Regions from separate parts of the Homo sapiens genome. Here regions 1 and 2 are each linked to region 3. The links are contacts of gene promoters, found by promoter capture Hi-C in blood cells and fetal thymus (Javierre and others, 2016). All regions are on one chromosome and are shown on one strand. The core of a region is centred on a gene start or on the middle of the fragment in contact, and the rest is flanking DNA. Distances in the headings are between cores, read along the strand shown.

Region 1 (3,555 bases), core at 492-2,991, 330 kb before region 3:
GCATGTGTTGAGTGTCTCCTGTGGGCCAGGTGCTCTGCTGGAGCATTTACCTTTAAGACCCCAGATCAATAGGGTCTTAAAAGTAAATGCTCTAGAGACAGATATGGGAAGAAGCAAGAGGGAAAGAAGTAATAAGGCATTTGTTTGATTAGAGGGTCTACCTTGGGGAATATTGAGAAATAAAATCCAAGTAGCAAGATGAGTTCAGTTGAAAGAGAGCTTTGAGATCAGCGAATTCACTCATTCAATTAAAAATATTATCAAATGCATATTATGTGCTAGGCTCAGGGTTACAATTATAAGCAAAGGGGGTAGGGTGGGGGAAGACATTTTCTGCCCTTATGGAATTACAACTATGTTAAATGTAAAGGAAAGTGACATTGTGCTAAAAGATCCTACAATAGTAGGACTTGACTTAGAGGAAAGGCTTCTATGAGAAAGTCATGATTCAGATCTGGAAAATAAGTAGATATTAATAAGGCAAAATGTATGGAGGTAAGGGAGCCAGTAGAACATTCTAATAAAAGAAATGACAAATGGAAAGGCCTCATGGTGGAGGAAGCATAATGAAAAATGAGGATGTGGGGGCCAGATCATGCAGGACCTTTTTGGCAATGTTTAAGGAATTTTGGCTTTAGCTTAAGAGTAAGGGGAAGCCATTGAAGAGTTCTGGGCATGAGCTCTTGAAGAGTTAGTATCAGGATCATGAAAAGATCCCTGTAAGATCTTCTTATTCTGGAGAATAAGAAGGGCTCAAAAGATATTTAGGAGTTGAAACTTAAGGGACTTGGTATAATATCTTGGTGTGAGGAAAGGAAGATAGCAAGGATGACACTCAAGTTCCTAACTTGGAAAACAGACAGTGGCGCCATTCCTTGCAAGAGGATCAGGTTTTAGGTTGTTTGTTTGTTTGTTTGTTTCCTTTTCTTTTGGGGGAGTGGGGGGAGGTTTATGAGTTTGGTTTTACATGTATTGAGTTTGAGATGTCTTTGAGCCATGTAAGACATGTGGAGAGGTCAAGTAAGTCATTAGCGGTGTAAATATACTTTGAGTTACTTGGATGTATTTTCTTGACTAACTGGTAGAACGCCTAATTGTTTACAACTCTGATCAGAGATGTCTAGAAGGAGCTCTTTTAATACAAAGCTGGAGCATTGTTGACTTGTCAGCTCTGCTATTGCAGAGCAAGACAGGAAAACCAATAGCATAAGAACTAAAATCTATATAAAAACGAAGAATATTGTCATATATTTTGTGAAACAGACAAATGAACAAGAAATAAAGAAAACAGAAAAATATATATAAAGGCCTATTGTGTCTTACTATGAAAGTAATGCTTAACTTCTTCACTAAATGAGCCTTCTCTGAGACTTCCTTTATATTACCACTTTCTCTAATATTCACCCCAGTAACAGCCATTCCAAATGTGAAACTTAAGTGATAAGAAGAGCTCACTGGTTGGGTTACCTCAAATAAAATAAAAATAATGTGAGCATCTTACACAATCCAGGTTGAAAGCCAAGTTTTACCTCCTGTGAAGTCTTTTGCGTTACAAACTTGGTATCTTTGCCCTTTAAGCCTCAACCTCACGTAGTATCTTTTCTGGACAACAGTCTATTTTTGGTTGGCCTTGGGAAAAGGAACTGATAAACATATTCTTTAAAAATGTGGTTCATTTCACTTTCCTAAGTTAGGCAGTGTAGCAGGGTATTAAGGAGCCAGGATATAGGGATTCAAATCCTGCTTTTGTCACTTATTCTCGATAAGATTTGAGGCAAGTTTCCTAACCTGTCTTTCTCATTTTACTTATCTGTTAAATGGGGGATACGTATAGTACCTATTGCAGAGAGCTTTTAAAAGGGTTAAAGTAGTTAATACACATTAAGCCTTTTGAATAGCAAGTGTTCGATAAATATTATTAAAACTAAAATTTGAAGTTTTTATAGAAATCAATATTATGTAAGTGATGCAATCTTATTTTATTAAACCAAAATTGAAATTTAACTGCAGTATATCAGGAAGAATCTAAATATTACTTACAGTGAAGAAGATGCTGGTCAGAACGTAATTACACTCAGGTATGAATGAATGATGGAATTGCAGGTATGTTTTACTAAATGGTATAGCTCATGAGTCTCACACCCAGGTGAATTCCCTAGTGCTATAGGATTTGATTCATTTATGGTCTCCCATTATTTATACTGTATTTGTTCTTCATTGATTTTATTCTTTGCAGTCGGATACTTCTGGAGACTATGAAATCACACTCTTAAAAATCTGTGGTGGAGATGACTGAACCAAGAAGATAATCTCCAAAGGTCCACGATGGGCTTTCCCAACAGCTCCACCTTACTTCTTCTCATACTATTTAAGAGAACAAGCAAATATAAACAGCAACTTGTGTTCCTAACAGGAATTTTCATTGTTCTATAACAACAACAACAAAAGCGATTATTATTTTAGAGCATCTCATTTATAATGTAGCAGCTCATAAATGAAATTGAAAATGGTATTAAAGATCTGCAACTACTATCCAACTTATATTTCTGCTTTCAAAGTTAAGAATCTTTATAGTTCTACTCCATTAAATATAAAGCAAGATAATAAAAATTGTTGCTTTTGTTAAAAGTAATTTCTTTGTTTGCTTTCAGAGCTTGCCAACATTGTTTGATGCCTGGTGCCAACAACTAATATTTTAAAACATGTTTCTGTATAGAAGCTGTTACTGCTTCAGTTTATCACCTTGTTAATCACACTTTTTTGAAAGAAAGGAATAAGATGAAGATGTATGTGACCCTGGCCTACCCTTTGTAGTTGTGATCAAGCTATAGGAGTGGTAATGCATGATAAGTTATTTCAGCTTTCAGAAAACATCTGCTGAAGGATTAATCTAACCACTTCCTGTCTGAATGGCAAGCATGAATTATGGTTGCTTCATGCTAAATACTACTTTCCCAGAATGGGCATTTAGAATCAAGCCTCTAAGGTTTCCTTTTCTCTTGAGTTGGCAAAACTATGCATTTAAAGAATCCATCATGCCATCTTTGAGTGGGACCTAATATGAAATACCTTGACTGATATGAAATAGATAAAGTGAAAAAAATTCCAGTTAGAGTTATTTTCCTGGACCAGAATAGAAATGATCGTACTGGCCATGTGCAGTGGCTCACGCCTGTAATCTCAGCACTTTGGGAGGTTAGCAGGCGGACTGCTTGAGCCCAGGAGTTTGAGACCAGCCTGGGCAACCTAGTGAGACCCTGTCTCTGCCAAAAATACAAAAATTAGCCTGGCATGGTGGCACATGCCTGTGGTCCAAGCTACTTGGGAGGCTGAGGTGGGAGGATTGCTTGAGTCAGGAAGCTCATTTGGCAAGTTAGTTCTGTAATCAATACTATAAATGTCAGTCATAACTAAGATGATGGCAGGAGATAATGAAAACAACTACTTAAATATTTGGGAGATAAAATTGAGTAAACATGGTATTCAAAGTTACCAAGTGTCAGTCAAGTATGCCTTCACGATTTTAGTGTAAGTGATTTAGTGAGTAAGTATATC
Region 2 (3,499 bases), core at 681-3,180, 380 kb before region 3:
CAGGAGTTTGAGACCAGCCTGGCCAACATGGTGAAACCGTGTCTCTACTAGAAATACAAAAATAGCCCGGTGCGATGGCAGATGCCTGTAATCCCAGCTACTCAGGAGGCTGAGGCAGGAGAATCGCCTGAACCTGGGAGGCAGAGGTTGCAGTGAGCTGAGATCATGCCACTGCACTCCAGCCTGAGAGACAGAGTGAGACTCCGTCTCAAAAAAATAGAAAAAGAGAAAGAAATATGAATGGATTGAAGAATATTCTTGGAGTGGGGAAGATGCTTACAACTGTGACACAAAACCAAACGCCTAAAAGAAAAATATTGATCTATTTTAACTACATACAAGTTTATCACTATGACAGCCAACAATCCCATTGGTAGAGGCAGAAGACAGCTCGCAGGGAAAAAATATTTGCAGCACATTAGACAAAAGACTTATTTCCTTAACATACAAATAACTTGAATAAATTGGTTTAAAAAATGAACTTGACAGAAAAAGTTGTAAGGGACATAAACAGGACATAAAAAGAATTATAAATGTCCAATAACATCAGAAGGTGCTACAAGGTTGGACACAGTGGCTCACACCTATAATCCCAGCATTTTGGGAGGCCAAGATGGGAGGATCATTTGAGCCCAGAAGTTCGAGACCAGCATGGGTAATATGGCAAGACCCAGTCTCTTAAAAAAAAAAAAAAAAAACTTTAAAAATTAGCTGAACGTTGTGGGGTGTACCCATGGTCCTAGATACTTGGGAGGCTCAGGTGGTAAGATCGCTTAAGCCCAAGAGGTGGAGGCTGCAGTGAGCCATGTTCATACCACTGTACTCCAGCTTGGGTGACAGAGTGAAACCCTATCTATTAAAAAAAAAAAACTCCTGCATCTCAGAATTGAAAAAAACATAAATATCATGATGAGAAACACTTTTCTACTTAAGAGATTGGTGAAGGTTAAAAAAAAAAAGTAATGTAGAGGATGTGGCAAGGTGATATTTTTATTCTCTGTTCATGGGAGAGTAAATTTGGTACACTTTTGGATAGTATTTTGGCAATATCTCTCAGTCCTTAAATGCACATGTCCTTTAAACCCAGTAATTCCACTTGTGGGTATGTATCTTATAGATAAACTTGCATAAGGTTGAAAAAATAGGGGCCCAAGTACATTTGTTTGTATTAATGAAAACAAACATGCAGACAGCATAAATGTCCATCGATAGGGTAGGAATAAGTAAATTACTCATTTATAACTTACAGGCATTTTTATGTGATCATTAAAATGAATGGGAAAAAAGTGGATCAGCTGTATGTGAATTGACATTAAAAAAGTCCCAAGATGTAATAATTTAAAAAATCAACTTATAGAGTAATATGTACAGAGGGATTCTGTTTAAAAGAAAGAACAAAGAAAATAAAAAATTTACGGAAAGACTATTACATCAAAACTTTGTGGAAAGGTGGAATTGTGAGAAAGGAATTTTACTTTTCAATATATCACCTTCTGTACTGTTTGATTTTTTTTTTTAATCATGAGCATACATTATATTTTATAAGTAAGGTGGAGGGCAAGTTTAAAGAAAAGCCTGTGCAGAGATGTGACCATCCCTTGGCCTGGCGTATGGATGGAAGGTGTGCTGTTGGAAGGCTTTGTTTGGCCCAAGTTACTCCCTTCTCACTGGCTAGGAGGCTAAACTCTCATCTTTCATCTGAAATCCCTGCTGCTTTTATGAACATATCATAGAATCAGATGAAAAAAGCATCTCTCCAAAATGCTGGTGTTAAAAAAAAAAGTCGCCCTCTGGCCCTCGCCCATGAGTAAATTAACATGGAATTATTTGGGCAGGCTCTCCTGCTGACACCTTCAAAGGCGTGGCACATTTCTGAAGGGCTAGGAGAGACCCAAGTGCGTGTGATCAAGGGTGTATTCATTTCCTATTGCACTATGACAAATTATCATAAATTTAGCAATTTAAAACAACATCCATTTATTATCTCACAGTTCTATATGTTAGAAGCCTGAAATGGGTCACACAGCACTAAAATGAAGGTGTTGTTGGGACTGCATTCCTTTCTGGAGACTTTGGGAAGAATCCTCTTCCAAGCCCTTTTAGGTTGTTGGTAGAATTTAGTTCCTTGTAGTTGTCGAATTGAGTTCTTAGTGCTTGCTGGCTGCCAGCAGAAGCTGTCTTTGGCTCCTGGAGGTCTCTGCCTGTCCTTGTATGTGGCCCCTGCATCTCAGAACCAGCAATGATGCATCAAATCTTACTTATGCTTGGAATCTCTTTGGCTTTTCTTTCTGGGGGATCTCTTTTCTGCCATTCTCTTCTCCCTCCAGCTGAAGACATTTCTCTGCTTTTAAGGGTGCGTGTGATTAAATTGGGCCCACCTGGATAACACGGGCTAATCCCTGTGTTTTAAGGTCTGGAACCTTAATTATGTTTGCAAAGTCTCTTTCATCATGAAACACAATACATTGACAATTCCCAAGGATTATGATGTATACATTTTAGGAGGCTGTTGTTCTGCCTACCACAGGGGCTAGGAGTATGGCTACATCAGGGATGGTAGCATTTGGCATCAGATAGCAGGAAAGAGGTGGGGAGGGGCCAAAAACAGGAGGCTAACCTGAGCCTGGAGGGCAAACCCACACGTGGAGAAAGAGGCCCTAGCCAAAGAAGGGCTCCTACTGTCTCTGGGTTTTTCTTTTTTTTTTTTTTTTTTTCCTGTTTACCTCCTCTCCCTCAATTAAAGAACTAATACTTATGAGTGGCTCAGAGAGCAAACATTAGGAACAACTCAGAACTGCTATGGAAAACAAGATAGCAATTCTCCAAAAAATTAAAACTAGAACTACCACATGCTCCAGCAATCCCATTTCTGGGTATATATCCAAAGGAAATGAAAGCAGGATCTTAAAGAAAGGTATCTATACACCCATGTTCACTGCAGTACTTTTTACAATAGCCAAGAGGTAGAAGCAGCCCAGTTTCCATTGACAGAAGAATGAATAAACAAAATGCGGTACACACACACAATGGAATATTATTCAGTCTTTTAAAAACACATGTTGTGTGAGAGGAAGAAAACCCTGTCACATGCTACTATGTGGGTGAGCCTTGAGCCCAGTATGTTAAGTGAAAAAGCCAGTCCCAAAGAGACAAAATACTGTATGATTTCATTGATAAGAGGTATCCAAAGCAGTCAAATTCATAGGAACAGAAGGAGACTGGTCGTTAGGAATGAATAAGGAAAGAGAAAAAGAGGAGTTGTTTAATGTGTAGAGTTTCAGTATTGAAAGATGAAAAAGTTCTGAAGATGTTTCAAAACAATGTGAATATTCTAACCACTACTGAACTATACACTTAGAAATGGTTAAGATGGTAAAAACCCTCAGATTTCCAATTGTAAACATTCTTATCACAAAGTTTTATGTGTTCTTTTTTTCTCTCTGCCACACAAAACCACATACACACTCAAACATAAATAAGCAATCAAGTCATTGCATTT
Region 3 (3,540 bases), core at 221-2,720:
CGCTTCAAGTTGTGAATCCTAAGGGCCATCCATTCAAGCCAAGTAGGGATGGGCAGTGATGTCACCTTGTGACCATGAGTCACAGAAACACTTTCATGGCAGGACAAAAGGAAAGAAGGGCAGGAAAAGACAATGCTGGAAAAATCAAGAATCAGACATGTGGTTGCCGCTTGAGCAATTCAACAGCCCACATTCTGGCACTAGGGTTTGCCACTACAGCGACCTGGAGCTAACCAACACCTGTATCTTAATTCTCCTGAAGCAGAGGTCCTGTATTTTAGTACAGGTAGTAAGTTTGGACAGTTACTCCAAGAACTAGAATAGTTATTTTTCAGTTTTGTTTTTTTAAAACACGGATTTTCAAGGGACTGTGGTTTTAAAGGTTTAAAATGATAAAGAAATTTCTTTCTTAGAGATGCTTCTGTGGTGCTCTAGTGGAGACTGGGTGCCCGTTATGAGCTCTCTTTACCACAGTACTTTTCCTACACAGCATTTTTTCCACAATGGTTATTATGTAATTGTGTAATTATCTATTTAATGTCTGTTACCCAGGCTACACCTTAGTAGCTTCATGAAAACAAGGGCCATGTTTGCTTTTTTTTCTGCATGGGCTCCATAAGTATTTGCCAAATGAATAAATCTCGGGTGTATATGTTAACTTGTTTCCTATTATACAGGCACTTATCTGGCCCAAAGCTACTGAATTCCCACAGTGTTGCTCTAAAAAGAAAGGTATACACCGGGCAAATATGGCTCAGCCCCATTTCAATATATATCTCAATGAGCCGAACAAACCGAATAAAGGATGTAAAAGCCCTTTGTAAAGAGCAAAGCGTCATAGGAGAGCTGTAATTATGATCACTGTTACTATCATGATTATTCCGTGGACCAAGTACCCCGGCCAGGTAAGGGGAGATAACGGGGGAGGAGAGGCGGCAAAAAGGGATGAAAAGGATGGGGCGGCGAGGAAATGATGGGCAAGCAGAAAGGCGGGGAAAGCAGAAGGGGGACCAGACAAAAAGGGTGTAGGTGAGAGAAGGGGGCACTCCAGGCGGAGGCAGCCAGACCGTACCTTTTGATACACAGCCTGGACGGCAGGTAGGCCCGGTAGCCGTCGGTGATGTACGGGTTGTCCTTGAGGGACCCGGGGATCTGCTCGTAGGTGTACAGGCGGATGCCACGGGGCACCAGGACCGGCCAGTACTGGTAGCTGCCCAGCTCGATGTAATGCGCGCTCTTCAGCAGCTTCTGATGCATCGTTCCCGGCCGCCGCCGCTCCCCGGCTCGGGAGCTCCCCCAGGTCCCGCCTCCCCGGGGAGGGGGCTTCGCCGCTGGCGCCCCCGCCCCGGAGCCCGCGGACGCTGCGCGAGGTCCTACCGCGCTGCCGCTGCTGCCCAGGGCCCGGCTCTGCGCTCACACCGGCCACTGCCGCCAGCGCCGCGGCGGACCCGGCAGCGTCGCAGCCTCCTCTGACGTCAGCGCGCCGCGGCGGCCCCGCCCCTCAGCCCTAGCTGGGAGGGGCAGGGTGCTGGGGCGCGCCCGGGTGTGCTCGAGCGTGCGCTGGCGGCGGCCCGGGCTCCCGGGCGTCTCTCACGCTGTGTTTTGGCGGCGCCTGGGGTCTTCGTTTGCATATGAGAAGAGCCGAAAGCACAGAGCTACAGGCGAATACAAGTGGATTTTTTTTCTTTTTCTGTTTTTTTATTAGAAGTAATAGTTGCTGCATTTTGAAAAATCAAGAGGAAAAGAGTTAACAGGAAGAAAAGTTCGAGGTAATTACCGTTTAGTTTATGCTTGGAATTACACACACTTAGTGTCAGAAGGGACTTTGAGGATTTCTAAGCTGAAGTCAGCTCTTAGCACGATAATTGGAAAGAGAGGAAACCTGATGCACGTGGAACATACACCAGCATCGAGCACATCCTGAGCCATAAAGGAAAGCCCCCGTGCATTCAAAACTCCGACCCCTTTCAGCGTTATGTTCTCTGATCACAGTAGAATTAAACTAGAGTAACAAGAAAACTAAAAGTCTCCACGTCTGGAATAGGAGCAATACACCAAATATTTCAAGGGCTGATGAAGAAATCACAATGGAAATGAGAATATCTACTTAACTGAATAATATAGAACATATTAAAAAATCCTGTGGAGTGCGGCTATAGTAGCGTTTACAGGAAGTGTTGCAGCTTTGTTTCTGGCTATTTACTGTAATGCAAGTGTTTACTTATAATGGCAACAGGGCAAAACATCAGTTTGAGTACCGTATGTGTATAATAGAACGCTTAGTCCATTGTTTGGCATTGTAAGGGCAAGAAAAATATCTTGTCCTCACTTATCACAAGGTTCACAGCTGACATTCCTATGAAAAAAATTAAGAGAAGCCAGGCGCAGGTGGCTCATGCCTGTAATCCCAACATTTTGGAAGGCCGAGGCAGGCGGATTGCTTATGCCCAGGAGTTGGAGACCAGCCTGGGTAACATAGTGAGACGCTGTCGCTACAAAAAAAACCAACCAAACAAACAAAAAACAAAAATTAGTCGGGTGTGGTGATGGGCGCCTGTAGTCCCAAACTATTCTGGGCTGAAGTGAGAGGGTTGCTTGAGCCTGGGAGGTCGAGGCTGCAGTGAGCCATGTTTGTGCCACTGCACTCCAGTCTGGGTGACAAAGCGAGACTTTGTCTCAAAAAATAAATAATAAAAATTAACAAGAAAAGGGATAATAAATTCATTTAACACAGTTTTATGTGACAGAGGAGTCTTCAGAAATGAAGACACAAAGACCCAGGAAAAAATGGGCTTTTTATGCTAAGTCTGATGAAAGGAGTGGATAGTTGTGGAGAAACATGATTGAAAGGGGGCATCATCTAATGATAATAAACTGAGGGGGGATCCTAGCTAGCAAGGCCAGTTCATTCAAATTCTTGGCCTCAGAGTATGGGGCAGGAACTCTCTAGAATGAGGGTTTTATGACCTAGTTTCAGGTGAGGTAAGTCAGAACTCCTTTGTGACCACGGAAAGGCAGGGACAGTCAGAAAGTAACCTTACTAGATTTTTTGTTGTTGTTGTTGTTGGGGGAAGACAGAGTCTCACTCTGAAGCCCAGGCTGGAGTGCAGTGGCACAATCTCGGGTCACGCAATCTCCACCTCCCGGGTACAAGCAATTCTCCTGCCTCATCCTCCCGAGTAGCTGGGACTACAGGCACCCACCACCATGCCCGGCTAATTTTTGTACTTTTCGTAGAGATGGGGTTTCACCATGTTGGACAGGCTGCCCTTGAACTCCTGACCTCAAACAATATGCCTGCCTCAGCCTCCCAAAGTGCTGAGATTACAGGCGTGAGCCACCACGCCCGGCCCCTTACTAGGTTTTATGGCTTCCTTTAGGGAGAGAAATTCTAGGTTGTAAGACCCACTTGGGAAGAACAGGAAAAGGAAGAAAGGAGGACGGAAAGAAGTTCAGAGAGACCTTAGTTTTGAGGCCTTCCCAGTCTCCTTTAAAGTACTCAGCATGTCAAAGCACCACACTTTGGGGTGGGTGTGGTGT

Evidence for each region. Contacts are between HindIII fragments. The CHiCAGO score rates a contact against its expected background, and 5 or more counts as called.
Region 1: a fragment that was not itself captured here is called in contact with the fragment with the promoter of PAQR3 in region 3 in 1 of 17 cell types (monocytes); the score reaches 5.1 in monocytes.
Region 2: a contact is called between a fragment that was not itself captured here and the fragment with the promoter of PAQR3 in region 3, in 1 of 17 cell types (neutrophils). The highest score is 5.1, in neutrophils.

What each region holds. Positions count from the first base shown.
Region 1 is chr4:78,607,820-78,611,374 of GRCh38, forward strand. It overlaps ANXA3 (annexin A3), which reads left to right. Exons shown (of 13, transcript NM_005139.3): 13 at 2,237-2,628. The coding sequence ends at 2,296. Among named protein-coding and RNA genes, the nearest start is that of LINC01094, 36 kb to the right of the region's middle. The HindIII fragment of the contact is 3,917 bases long and covers 1-3,555 here.
Region 2 is chr4:78,554,995-78,558,493 of GRCh38, forward strand. The region is part of intron 2 of ANXA3 (annexin A3); the gene reads left to right. Among named protein-coding and RNA genes, the nearest start is that of ANXA3, 5.0 kb to the left of the region's middle. The HindIII fragment of the contact is 9,514 bases long and covers 1-3,499 here.
Region 3 is chr4:78,937,968-78,941,507 of GRCh38, forward strand. PAQR3 (progestin and adipoQ receptor family member 3) reads right to left here and starts at 1,471. Exons shown (of 6, transcript NM_001040202.2): 1 at 1,073-1,471. The coding sequence starts at 1,257. RefSeq lists silencers at 1,001-1,070, 1,161-1,650. The HindIII fragment of the contact is 16,646 bases long and covers 1-3,540 here.